4 separate regions of the Homo sapiens genome follow, and all the other regions are linked to region 4. The links are contacts of gene promoters, found by promoter capture Hi-C in blood cells and fetal thymus (Javierre and others, 2016). All regions are on one chromosome and are shown on one strand. The core of a region is centred on a gene start or on the middle of the fragment in contact, and the rest is flanking DNA. Distances in the headings are between cores, read along the strand shown. Region 1 has its middle 57 kb from the start of LONRF2. Region 2 holds the start of UNC50 (unc-50 inner nuclear membrane RNA binding protein). Region 3 overlaps MGAT4A (alpha-1,3-mannosyl-glycoprotein 4-beta-N-acetylglucosaminyltransferase A). Region 4 holds the start of REV1 (REV1 DNA directed polymerase).

Region 1 (3,210 bases), core at 247-2,746, 780 kb after region 4:
CTTCCTCAGACCCTCATCAGAGTCTCCAGGGAGAGCCCAGACCTTCTAGAAGGGGCTTCCCTCCCCCTCCCCCACCAAGTGTGCAGCACTCCCAGATTCTAAAGTCATGTCAGTCAGTGGCATTTTTCGGACCGAGGGGTGCATGGTGGTCTTCGGCAGATGGAAACTCACTTTTGCGAGCTCCCTGATAGCGGGGTGCAGGCCTCCACCTCCTCAGAGGCCCGCATGAGAAATCTTGGCAGGGAGGGAGGCAAGGGAGGAACGGGGCTCAGCTGGAATCCTGACTTCAGCAAAGGCGATGGAGGAAAGTTAAGGGCAGTGGCTGCAGTTATGTGAATCAGATGCAGCCCCAGCAGAGCTTCTGGTGCCCAGGCTGGAGCACCCCCAAGTGCCCCTTGAGCTATGAGCATCCAGCGAGACACTGGGCGTGCACAGCCTTATGGTGGGCTGTGGCATCGAACCACTGAATGAGAGAAGGTCTCTAGTAGAATCCGCCCTTCCTTCCTCCCCTCCCTCCTGCCTCCATCTTTCCCTTCCTTCTTCCCTCCCTCCTTCCTTCCACAAGCATCTTTGTGCAGGAACTGTGTTGAGTGTTGGGGGCACAGATGCCTCTGGCCAGTCCCCACATCCCCAGGCTTCTGAAGATTTCATCATGACACAGTGACAGTGGAGGGACAATCTCCCAGGTGGGGCGGCATCTGGGGGCAGGTGGCACCTGTGCACCCTTGAGCATGGGTTTGAGGGCACCCTACCGTTCCATTTTTGGGGTCTGGGCCAACATGCAGATCTGAGCCTCTGCAGGCCTGTGAGGCTGGTTCCGCTCAGCTGGCACCTTGGTTATCTGCTGAGCAGTAGCGACTGCTCTTTCAGGCCACAGTGTGTGCCACCAGGCCCATGTTAGGGATCTTAGGTCTCAGGGGTGTGTGGAATACCACGCCCCTCACTCTCCCTGGGTATGGAAGGGTGTGAGACACAGCACACTCTCCTCCCTAGCCAGACTGCAGGGATCTCCACCTCCTCCCCTAGAAATAAGGGTACTGTATGCATAGTGCTAGGAGTCAGAGCCCCCACCTCAGGACTGGGAGGAGGAAGAAAAAGGGCCCTGGGGCATGGAGAAATGTCTGACTCTCATCTCCCAACACACACACCCACCCTTCTCCTTCTCCCCAGCCCTAAGCCCTCCCTCCCCACAGGGAGTGTCAGCTGGGTGCAGGTGCTCGCTTCACGCATGCTGTGCTGAATCTTCTGGACGCTCCCACACTGCCTGGCCTGACTCCACCCTTCGGAGGCCATGCGCTCTGTGAAAGGGCATTGGCGGCAGTTGTGTGAATCAGAAGCAGTGGTCCTGCCTGAGACCGTGGTCCGGCCAGAGGCAGGGATCCAGGAGGCCTGGGGCCTAGCATAGGCCCAGGTTAGTCTGTGACCTTAGCAGTTCACTCCCTTACTTTGAGTTTGAGTGAGGGGTTGGGTCGCTGTGTCCCCAGGGAAAAATTTCCCTTTGGAAACCCAGACATTTCAACCTGCAGAGCTCAGAATTCAGGGCATGGGAAGCACAGATGCTCCAAGTTGGCTTCTGGGAGCTGGAGTCAGCACATCTTGGTTTCCAGACCTGAGGGCTTTCTACTGGGGACAAAGTGTCATGTAAAAGTGCTTGATCCCAAGTGCCTCCTGCATCCTGGAGGACAGCATCCCATTCTTGTCAGGTAGTGCCTGTGAGCTGGCACTAGGCCTTTAACAGCCATGCCAATTTCCTATAAGATCAGAAGCTCCTGTCTAGTTCAGTAGGTGACAGGCATCCACCATCACAGCCCATGCTGCGTCCTTCACAATGGAGGTGCTGTCCACTGCCGACAAAGCCAACACTCCATGAGCCCTGTCTTAGTGCTTCTGATGGAGGCCTTCTGGTTGGGAGAGAAATCTGTACTCAGAGTAGCAGTCTATTTAGATTTCAGAATGAGTCAGTGGCCCTTCGGCTTTCTATCAAGTTCAGTATTTGTCTCCATTACTGGCAGACTGGACACTTGGTGGAAGCAGTAGCTACATTATCTTTGGTAAGTAGAAGGCTGTGCCATTGGGCTCACTCATAGCCTCCATCCCTGCCACCATTGTGCCAGCACTGGGGGGCCAATGACACAGGCTGGCCCATGTTACCTGACTGAGTCATTTCGCCTACTTGGCTGCTAGGAGCGTCTTCTGTGGTGGATGCTCTCCAGTGAGCACTATCATGTAATAAGACTGTCATCACGCTCTCCGCCTGCCACTCCCATGTGCCTACCCGCATGCCTCTACCGGACCTCCCTGCCCCAGATCTTGCAGCCTTTGTCTTTCCAGGCTCCTGAAGCCAGACAAGCCATTTGGCACTGCCCACGAGTCCATGTATATTCTAACTCTGGCCTAGTTTTCCTTCCACACAAAGTGGATGACCAGGTACTCTGCCCCAAATTCTGCCCATTGGGAGCTTTCTCCATCGCTACTGTCTTTCGAGGCCACCCTTGATCAAGGCTGTATGCAGCTGCCATCTATGTGCAGCTCACACAAACACGTCAAGCCCACTTGAGCATGAACTGAGCTTGGATGTTTTCTTCCTCCTTTGGTTATACAGAATTCCCCACATAGCCATGGGTATGAACTGGTAAGATGCAGTGGTACACACATGGTGGATGACAGAGGTCTGAGCTATGTTTGTGTAGTGTGCCCTGGTCCTGCTCGTGTGTGACTGTAGGGATACCACTTTCATCTTAAGATGGATTTTTGCTGACCCGCCTCATCTTATATGATGGTTCTGCCCAACCCTAACTCATTGGGGCAGCTGTGGCTGCATGTCCACTTTCTGCCATGGCCAAGGGCTCTGTCTCCACCAGGACCCAGCAGCATGCTGGCAGTCTTGTGATTCTCCTATTATAATTTGCAATAAATTCCACACAGCTCCTTTCTTCTGTTGTATTATTTTGCTAGGGTTGCTATAATAAAGTACCACAATTGAAAGCCTTAAACAACTGCAATTTATTTTCTTGCAGTTGTGAAGGCTAGAAGTCAGGATCAAGGTGTCAGCAGGGTTCGTCCCCTCTAAGGGATGAGAGGGAAGTGTGTGCTCCAGGCCTCTCTCCTGGGCTTGCAGATGACTATCTTTCCCCTGTGTCTTTACATGAGCTTCCTCCCTGGATGTAGTTGTGTCCAAATTTTCTCTTATATGGACACCAGTCATATTGG
Region 2 (3,166 bases), core at 565-3,064, 880 kb before region 4:
GCCGCGCTACCTGGACCACACAGTCCGACTGCAGCAGACACGCGCCCAGGTCCTCCTTCAGGCCCGCGCACGCGCCGCCCTGCGGCTTGTCCTCATAATACTTAGGCATGACGGCGCTTCCCCTCCGATGCGGACGCGACTTTCTCCCACCGCAACACTTGCAACCGGGTCGGGAGCGAGCGAGGCCCCAGTCTCAGGGGACCGGAAGCCAGCGGCAACAACTTCCGGCGGGCCGCGGCGGTAGGGCCGAGGACTACGGGGGCCGAGAGGTGGCGCGTCCGCGGCGGAAGTCGGTTCCCGTGACGCGGCGCGCCCCAAGGGCCGGCTCCGTTGAGGGAAGGGAAGCCCGCCCGGTGGCGGCTGGGGTCGGCTGCTGGGAGGAGGTGGTGGGCTGGTTCGGACGTGGGTCGAGGCTGTAGCAGGACTCCAGGTGAGGCCTGAGGACCACTCTGCCCTCCCGCGGCCCGGGCTCGCGCCGGGGGCCATTTAATCCCGACAGCTTGCGGCCTGACGTCGCTGCGGCCTGGCAGTGACCATGTCGGCGTCCGGCCCCTCGGCCGGCGATAGAGTTGCGGCTAAAATGAAAGGACGCCCAGTTACATTTGCATCGTAGATAAAGAAAGAGCATTTAGTATAAGCATGTCCGAAATGTTGCGTGGGATGTAGGCATACTAAAACCTTATTCGTGGCCTGTCTGAAATCCAAATGGAGCTGGGTATTCTGTGTTTTTATTTGCTAAATCTGGCAGCCGTACCCGCGGCCCCGGGCAGGGAGGGAGCAGCTGGGCTCGGCCAGACCCTGCCGGCGTCTGGGGGGCCTGCGAAGTGGAGGGGAGACGGGCAGCCGGGCAGTGGCCGGCGTTCCCCGGAGCTCGGACCGGTTGGATTGGACTCCGACGCTACCGCTCCCTCTGCTGAACTATTCCGGATGTAAAACACTAGGGATCGGAGTTTTTCTTGGTTTTTTAATCTCATTCTAGTGACCGAGAAGCTTGCTGGCAGTGCGCTGATGGATCTGTGTGAATAGGCCATTTATTTGACCTCTTCAGTAACACTGTTCTAACCGGCTGAAACTGCTTTCTTAGGCATTTTCTTAAAAGCTTGGTGGTTAAGAGCACGGAATTTCGAGTCAGATTTCCAATCTTGGCTCTATCACTATCCTCGGAGTCATGGGGCAGTCACATCATCCCTGTCTCTGTAATGGTAGCTGCCCCTGGATAAGTGTTATTAGGTGATTCAGAAGGGTGGGCTGTTGCCCTTGCCTGAGGTTGCAGTCTGCGGTTCCCAAGCCCCAAGACCCGCCTCAGAACTAACTGCATTTGCTTTTGACTCCTGGCCTTTCTCTAGGGTTGGGAAGAACATGGAAAGTGACCTCCCTGCCAAATAACTCAGAAGAGGAGTGTCGGTAGCCAAATGTTTCTTCAGAATACGTGTAAAAGAAATGTTTTTCTTCCATCTAGGAAGATGTTACCGAGTACTTCAGTGAATTCCTTAGTGCAGGGGAACGGAGTCTTGAATTCCAGGGATGCGGCAAGACACACAGCCGGAGCGAAACGCTACAAATATCTGAGAAGGCTTTTCCGCTTTCGGCAAATGGACTTTGAATTTGCTGCCTGGCAGATGCTCTACCTGTTCACATCCCCACAGAGAGTTTACAGAAATTTTCATTATCGAAAACAGACGAAGGACCAGTGGGCCAGAGATGACCCTGCTTTCTTGGTCCTGTTAAGTATCTGGCTCTGTGGTAAGTGTGTTTATCTGAGATAGAATTGAACGCTGAGTGTTTCTGATTAGATTTTTTGTTATAAATGTGTTGTGGGTCAGAATCTGGAAATATTGGAAACTATTTCTCCTTTTTACTGAAGCCTCAAAAAATCTCACAGGAAAGAAAGTTGTAGTCTTGGTTCTACAGGTCCCAAGCAGATGCCAGAGTAAACTGTTACCCTAGGACATTGAAAAGCAGGGGACAAGATTCACTCCATATCTTTTTAAGTACTTGAATCGGTACCCAAATGTCAGCTGACTGTGAATAGGAATATGAAACTGGAAATTGCATTTCACAGGCAAATCCACAGTGAGAATTGTAAAGGTATTGATGGGAACCTGAGAAACTGAAGTTCTCCAATTCCATAATGCAAGGGTCTCATTTACCTGTAGGGTGTTGAAGTGGGTAAGATATTGAAGTTTATAGGGTGTTTTGCACCTTAACTGGACTTAAACTATGTTAGTGCCTTCTCTACACTGGCGTTCTAAATACTGAGGCCACCGTGGTGAATCAGCCTGGCAAGGGCCCACCTCAGGAAACTTCAACTCTCTCAGTGGCCACGCTGTGTCCCAAGGTAGTGTTCACACATCTTGGGAGTTTTGTTTAAAGACCTGTCTCTCCCACTAGCCTGGGCATCTGGAGGGCAAGGGATGTGTCCTGTATTTCCAGAACCTAGCAGAGTCCCTAAATGAATCTTGTGAATCTTTCTTTCAGTGTCCACTATAGGATTTGGCTTTGTGCTGGACATGGGATTCTTTGAGACAATAAAGCTTCTCCTTTGGGTTGTACTCATAGATTGTGTAGGCGTTGGTCTTCTGATAGCAACTTTAATGTGGTAAGTACCATAACTTTGGTTTTTCAGATACTGCTGTAGCATCTCCATTTGTTTGCTTCAGAGGTACAATAGCAGCAGATGGAAATTGAAACCCAGGTAGAGTTACTAAATGATCAATTTTGACTGCCAAGATTATTACAATTTTCCCTCCTGTGTTGCCACCTATATCAGAAAATACTATAAAGGCTGGTTTATAATATTGTCAAATGTAGCAAATAATTGAAATAATTATGTTTTGAACCCAAAATATCTGAGATCGGTCTCAATTTAGAAAGTTTAGTTTGCCAAAGTTAAGGACATGCCTGTGACACAGCCTTAGGAGGTCCTGATGACATGTGCCCAAGGTGGTCGGGGCACAGCTTGCTCTTATACATTTTAGGGAGACTTGAGACATCAGTCAATATGTGTAAAATGTACATTGTTTTAATCCAGAAAGTGGGGAAAGGCAGGTTACAGTTAGATAAGAGACAAATGGTTGCATTCTTTTGAGTCTTTGATCTGCCTTTCACTGAATACACAATTTACTTGTGAGAGGCAGGTACAGGAATAGTCATTTATGCCTTAATC
Region 3 (3,339 bases), core at 510-3,009, 830 kb before region 4:
GGGAACACTTTTCAAACACATTCTAGGAGGCCTGCATTTCTCTGACACCAAAGCCAGACAAAGACACAAGAAAACTACAGACCAATATCCCTGATGCAAAAATCCTCAACAGAACACTAGCAAATGGAATTAAAATGCACATTAAAAGAATTATATACACCATAACCAAGTGGGATTTATACCTGCAATACAGGGATCGTTCAACACACAAAAATCAATCAGTGTAACATATACTACATTAACAAAATGGAGGAAAAAAACACATGATCATCTCAATTGGTATGGAAAAGCATTTGACAACATTCAAGACACTTTCTTGATTAAAAAAAATGTGACGAACTAGAAATAGAAAAAAACTTATTCAACAAAATAAAGGTAATATATGAAAAGCCCATCGGTAATATCACACTTGGCAGCAAACAAATGAAAGCTTTCCCTCTAAGATTAGAAGCAGGGCAAGGAGTCCCACTTTCACCACTACTAGTCAACATAGTGCTGGAAATCCTAACTAGAGCAATTAAACAAGTAAAAAAAGTAAAAGGTACCCAAACCGGAAAAGAAGAAGTAAAATTATCATTATTTGCAGATGAAATAATCTTATATGTAGAAAAACCTAAAGAATCCACCAAAAACTACAAGCAATAAATGATTTCAGCAAAGTTTCAGGATACAAAATCAACACACAAAAATAGTTGTATTTTTGTATACTAACAATGACCAATCCAAAAAAAAAATCAAGAAAACAATGCCATTTACTGTAGTATCAAAAAAGATAAAATACTTAGGAATAAACCTAACTGGGGAGGTGGAAAATTTTTCTACAAAACATTTCTAAAAGAAATCAAAGAAGATACAAATAAATGGAAAGACATCTTGTGCTCATGTATTGGAAGACTTAATAATATTAAAATGTCCACACTACCTAAAGCGATCTACAGATTCAATACAATCCCTACCAAAATTCCCAAGGCATTTTTTACAGAAATAGAAAAAAATCCTCCTCAAATTTACATGGAGTCTGAAGTGACCCTAAACAGCCAAAATAGTCTTAAAAAAAAGGGAACACAGTTGGAGGCCTCATACTTCCTAATTTTAAAACATGCTACATGTCAGGTGCAGCAGCTCGTGTCTGTAATCCCATGACATATTGTGTTCTTGGTAAAAATTGGACTGTTGTGCTGCTAAAAATAATTGGACTGTTAGAATTAAATGTCAATTTTATTATCTTCAAAATAGTGGTAACAGTATTGTGGCCTACAAAAAAAAATTAGTTCATTGTAAGACCACTAAAGAAAAATTGTAAGAAAATTCCTCTTTAAAATCTGCCAAATAATGACATCTTAGTTCTTCTTGACAGTGGAGAGAGGGAAGAGGGAAGAGAAGATGGGGGAATGGGAGAAAAAGAGGAAAAAGATAAGTGAGTTGCAGGTCCCCCGCTAAGTGGAGGGCTGGCTTCCCTACTCAGTGGAGAAACATCAGAGCCCACATGCTCAGTTACCATGGAGACCCCTCTGCTCTGAGATAGTTATGATTTGTCAGATCTCAGAGGGTTTGCACTTTCAAAACTTCCTGTTTTAATGAAAACATACCCTTGATAACACTTTTTCTTTACAAGCATGAAAAACAAAGGAAAAACTACACTTACCTGAATGTAATATATGCCCTTTTCTTGAGCATACATCATTAGAAAACAGTAATCTAGGTTTTGCTTTGTTCTCCATCTGAAATAAACATTTTCAAAAAGTAAGTTAGGAATCAGACTCAAATTTAGTAAAATAAGATTAAATGTATAAATGTCAAATGTCTACATAACATGTCATCTATGTATATGTGTACACACACACACATACACACACACTCACTTAGGACGAAGAGTCAAAGAAAATTCACTTTCCTCTAATGAAGACTTTATCAAAATGTATTCCCAAGAACACTAATTCTCAAGCTGTCCTGAGGAAAAAAATGAGTCTAATATCAAGTAAGTATGTATACATGTTCCCCTTCTAGAAACATATTAATTCATAAGAGGCACAAAAATATCCAACGGTAAAGACATTTATTGGGAAAAAAATTCTTAATACATATTTTTCCAAACTTCCTTGACCACAGACCCTTTTTTCAGTAATATCTTAATGTTTCATCAAATGAGTGCTTCAAAAATTACAATTTTAGGGTCCCTATTCTGGTGCCTAGGACTGTTTGCACGCAGATCAAAGTTCACAAATAGGTACTGAATGCTTTAAAAAATTCATATTTAAATTTACAGTATTAAACCCTGTCAGTGAATTCCTGGTAGCCTACAGAAACACATAAGAGAAGTGGATCTAAAAGCTAGTTTAAGAAAACACAGTAAAATAAAAGCTAATATTAAGTTTTTACATATTCTAAGAAAACTCTACATTATTTCCAAGCGGTCCTGGACTTAATGAGACTTACCTAGAATATTTTACCAAATTCAACTCTAAAATGTTTTCAGCTTCGATAAATAAAAACTACATGTATTAAATATTTACACTCACAAGTGTGGAGGATTTTAAACGGCACATGCTCACCTTACTCTTTCTTTGGAGTCTCCAAATGTCTCCTTTAGGTTTGTCAAGTCAGGATAATAGCTTTCAGGGGGTGATATGACTTCCACCAAGCCAGAACTGATTTCTTTAGAAAATCTATTATGAGAAAGTTAGCTGAGTTACTTAAGTTCTGTGGGATTTTATTTATCTTAAAGCTCAATACACTGTGTTTAACATAAAACACATCAGTAATCATTTGTAGCAACGTATAATGTTATGGCCGCAAGGTGTTAAAAGGAGCAGCTCATCACTGATTTCATTTACAGAAAATACAGTTTTTTCCAATAGCAAAAGTTTTTTTTTAAAGTAATGCTTTAAAAACTATAAAATACTGCTCTTATTAAAGTAGCATAGAAATCCTAAGCCAACTGCAGGCATTAACGTTCCTAAAATGTATCTGAATTAAAAAAAAAAAATCAAGGTCTCACAGAAAATAGAAAATTGAAGAAAAACAAATAAGTATGTATGTGTCTTTAAATACGTATATTTTGCAAAAACCAAAGCTCTTACATCTTCAAGAAGCTTTGCTTGTGGGTTATAGACCACATGTCATTCTCAACCAGTGTTTCTCAACTGGGGGTGATTCTGTCCCTCTGGAAGACATTTAGCAATGTCTGAAGACGTTCTGGTTGCCACAACTGTGATCAGTACTACTGACGCCTAGTGGGTAGACATTAGGGATCCTGCCCCACATTCTACAATGCATACGGCAGCCCCCACAACAAAAAATTATCTGGCCCAAAATGTCCATTGGGCTGAGGTTAAGAAC
Region 4 (3,204 bases), core at 1-2,500:
CTACCCTACCTAAACAGGAAATGGCTTATTCTCGGAGACTAAAGTGCCAAGTCCGGAAAGACCAGACAGATACACAGAATTACAGACTGTTACATAAAGTCCTTAATAGTTACAAGCCCTTGTTGTGCTATGTGCTAGTCTGCATTATTTTCACCTAAATGAAACCATTTCTACTTAGTACATGGCGTGAGAAGACGTGGAGATAAAGAGAATTAGCAGACGTATATTATCTGCAATTTATCTTACGGAGGAGTACATTAAGGAGTGTTATGTGAGATTATTTCTTTACAAACTGAGAATAGGTAGGAAGAGCAGCGAAACACAGCGCGGCTCGGTGCGCCCAGAGCGGCGTCACTGTAACAGTACAGAAGTGGGCAAGGGGCTCTCGGAAGGACAGTTGGGGAACGGCGCCCAGCGTATTTAGCGAACGGACAAGCAGCAAGGAAAAACAAGGGAGCAACAACCGCCTTCGGACATTCCGACCGGTTCTGGGATGCACCGGGGACGTCGAAGGCGGGGTGCGGAAAAACGCTGTGGCTGGAGTGCGGGTGGGAGCGGCGGCTCGACCGGGTCGACATTCTACAAACGCTTGTGGAACGAACGCCCGAACGCGCGCGTGAATGAATGGCGCGGAACTGAATGGCCGGCCGAGGCGCCGGCGCAGGAGGAAGGAGTTTGCGGCGCGGTCTGACCGGGCCGGCGGGATGCGGCCGGGCGCGGAGGGAAGGGCCGCTGCGCCAGGGGTCGGCGCGGGGCGGCCCATGGGGCTGGCGGCGGCGCGGGGCCGGCCGCGCCATGACGGAAGGGAAGGGGAGGGGAGGTCACACATTACATAACCCGGCGGCTGCGAGCGTCAGGGGAAGGCGCCGTGGACAGCCCAGGCCGCGACAGGACGGCCGCGGGCCGGGGCCGGGGCGACGCACCCCTCCCCCGCGCCACCTCAGGCCGACCGCGCTCTGGCCGCTGCCGGGCGGGTCTGCGGCGCCTCCGGGCGACGCGTGTCCGATCCCGCCCCTCCCCCACCCCGCCGCCGGCCCGGGGGTCGCTCACCTTCCGCGTTGCCCCAGACCACCATGCCCGGGCCCGGCGGCCTTCTCCGGCCTTGCGGACCCCGGCCCCGCCGCCGCCAGTGCCCTCGCCAGGGACCAGGGAGGAGGGCCGGGGGAAGGCAGCCCCACCGCTGAGCAGCGCCGCGGTCCACGCTCCCCCACGCTCGCGGCAACCAACCCCGCGCGCGCTCCGCGGTGGCTCTCCGCCCCTCCCCCTCCGGTTAGCGCGCGCGCCGCAGCCACGCCCCCTAGCGTTCCGCGCGCGCTCCCCGGCCCCGCTCGCGCTCACAGCCGCGCGGCGCACGCGCTCTGCTCCCCCCGGCCCGGGGCGACCCCAGCCTCGGGCGTAGCACCGCGGCGCCCGGCGTCGGCCTCCGTGTTCCTCCCCTCCCCGGCCCCGCCCTGTTGTTCTGCAGCCGCCCGCAAGGGGCAGCGCCTGGGCGGCACGTGACCGTCTCGCTAGCTGGGCGGAGGGGAGCGCAGCGCGGGCCCGCCCACGCACTGCGCCGCCTGCCCGCCCGTCCTGCTCCGGTCACCCCCGCGCTTCGTTGACCGGGTCGCGGCTCTTCGGTTGCCATTCGGACAGCGCGCCGCTCCGTGCACAGCGAGTCCCCGCGCCTGCCCCGCCTTGGGGCTCCCCAGTGGGGAAGGACACAAGTGCAGACACTGACCGGGCTTCAAACCCCGGTACTGTGTGAAGATGCGCCAGACGCCCGGGTTCCCTCCTTAAGCAATTGATTTACAGTGACATCTAGTGGAGAAAGGGACACACATGAACTGACATTTTCCTATGTCCAGAGCAACCGAGAACCACGGCCCACTCAGGTTCGCGGGAAGGAGCACTGCGCCACGGCGTTTTCGGGATTCGTGGCCTGCTCCCGCAGGGCACAGACACTATCTTCTGTCCTTTGAGTGCCCGGGCAGCATTGCGCCTGAGTATTTGTAAACGGAGGGCCGGTATCCCATCCCATGTACAGCGCTGGAGTTACCCGAGAAAGCAGTTTTCTATGAATATAAAAATAATATCCTATATTATGTATGCGTAAGTACAATTCTAATTGAGGGCCTTCTAGCAGAAAACAATCCGTCCATAAGGACCACTTTCTCCCTCTTGGCAGGGTCGCTTTGAAGACTCCACATTGTTACATAATAGTCTTTATTGTTGTAATGCACAAACATGAAGATACTTTTTTCCCACTCATTCCCTTGCCTAAAATGCTTCAGAGTTTGCAGGTACTTAGGAAACAATCAGTATTCTTTTGAAAACTGATTTGCAGAGTTGGAACTTGTTTACTAGCAACACAGAGAATACTCAAATAGCTCATTTCTTTCCCTTTCAGTTTTTTGCCATTTTATAGACTTCTATAAATGCACTTCAACTTCAGTATTCTCGTCGCTAATCCAACGAATTTAGATTGCATACTTTTCAAAGACGTCATAATTTAAAACAAATTGCGTAATTGCTTTCTTTTCTTTTCTTTTCTTTTGAGACGAAGTTTTGCTCTTTTGCCCAGGCTGGAGTGCAATGGCGCGATCTCGGCTCACTGCAACCTCCGCCTCCCAGGTTCAAGTGATTCTCCCACCTCAGCCTCCCGAGTAGCTGGGATTACAGGCATGCGCCACCATGCCCGGCTAATTTTTGTATTTTTAGTAGAGAGGGGGTTTCACCATGTTGGCCAGGCTGGTCTGGAAGTCCTGACCTCAGGTAATCCACCAGCCTTGGCATCCTAAAGTGCTAGGATTATAGGCGTGAGCCACCGTGCCTGCCCATAATTTTAACAGACTCACGACCAGTTGCCGACTGCAACACCAGGAGGTCATCTGCTGAGATGCTACAGAAAAACAGTGGTAACCCCTTGTTATGGGTGAGTTTTGTTTTGGTTGTTGTTCTTTTGCTTGTTTTAAATGTCTAAATGGCAGCATTCCTGCACGATTGTATTTCAATTTTCTTTTCCACTCTCGTATTCAAACCGAAGATCTTTTTTTTTCTTCTTTTTGTATTTTTCTCAAGGAAGAAACACAAACCTTGAGCCAACTGACCTTGGCAATACCTTTATAGAATACAGTAAAATGGTATTAACTGCAAACTAGTAGGCAGCCTCTGTAAAGGACGAAAAAAAATCACGTTGCTGTCTACATAAAATAGGATAAAAAG

The links. Contacts are between HindIII fragments. The CHiCAGO score rates a contact against its expected background, and 5 or more counts as called.
Region 1: a contact is called between a fragment that was not itself captured here and the fragment with the promoter of REV1 in region 4, in 2 of 17 cell types (M1 macrophages and M0 macrophages). The highest score is 7.3, in M1 macrophages.
Region 2: a contact is called between a fragment that was not itself captured here and the fragment with the promoter of REV1 in region 4, in 1 of 17 cell types (fetal thymus). The highest score is 6.9, in fetal thymus.
Region 3: a contact is called between a fragment that was not itself captured here and the fragment with the promoter of REV1 in region 4, in 1 of 17 cell types (neutrophils). The highest score is 6.3, in neutrophils.

Annotation. Positions count from the first base shown.
Region 1 is chr2:100,264,141-100,267,350 of GRCh38, forward strand. No RefSeq gene overlaps it. Among named protein-coding and RNA genes, the nearest start is that of LONRF2, 57 kb to the right of the region's middle. The HindIII fragment of the contact is 7,771 bases long and covers 1-3,210 here.
Region 2 is chr2:98,608,297-98,611,462 of GRCh38, forward strand. It overlaps UNC50 (unc-50 inner nuclear membrane RNA binding protein), which reads left to right and starts at 293. Exons shown (of 6, transcript NM_014044.7): 1 at 293-430; 2 at 1,460-1,743; 3 at 2,479-2,599. The coding sequence starts at 1,464. COA5 (cytochrome c oxidase assembly factor 5) reads right to left here and starts at 216. Exons shown (of 3, transcript NM_001008215.3): 1 at 11-216. The coding sequence starts at 109. RefSeq lists an enhancer at 1-357 and a silencer at 421-520. The HindIII fragment of the contact is 1,435 bases long and covers 1,098-2,532 here.
Region 3 is chr2:98,653,800-98,657,138 of GRCh38, forward strand. It overlaps MGAT4A (alpha-1,3-mannosyl-glycoprotein 4-beta-N-acetylglucosaminyltransferase A), which reads right to left. Exons shown (of 16, transcript NM_012214.3): 7 at 2,553-2,666; 8 at 1,646-1,721. Among named protein-coding and RNA genes, the nearest start is that of UNC50, 47 kb to the left of the region's middle. The HindIII fragment of the contact is 2,662 bases long and covers 429-3,090 here.
Region 4 is chr2:99,488,767-99,491,970 of GRCh38, forward strand. REV1 (REV1 DNA directed polymerase) reads right to left here and starts at 1,251. Exons shown (of 23, transcript NM_016316.4): 1 at 1,051-1,251. RefSeq lists silencers at 726-805, 876-975, 1,086-1,755 and an enhancer at 1,189-2,074. The HindIII fragment of the contact is 11,070 bases long and covers 1-3,204 here.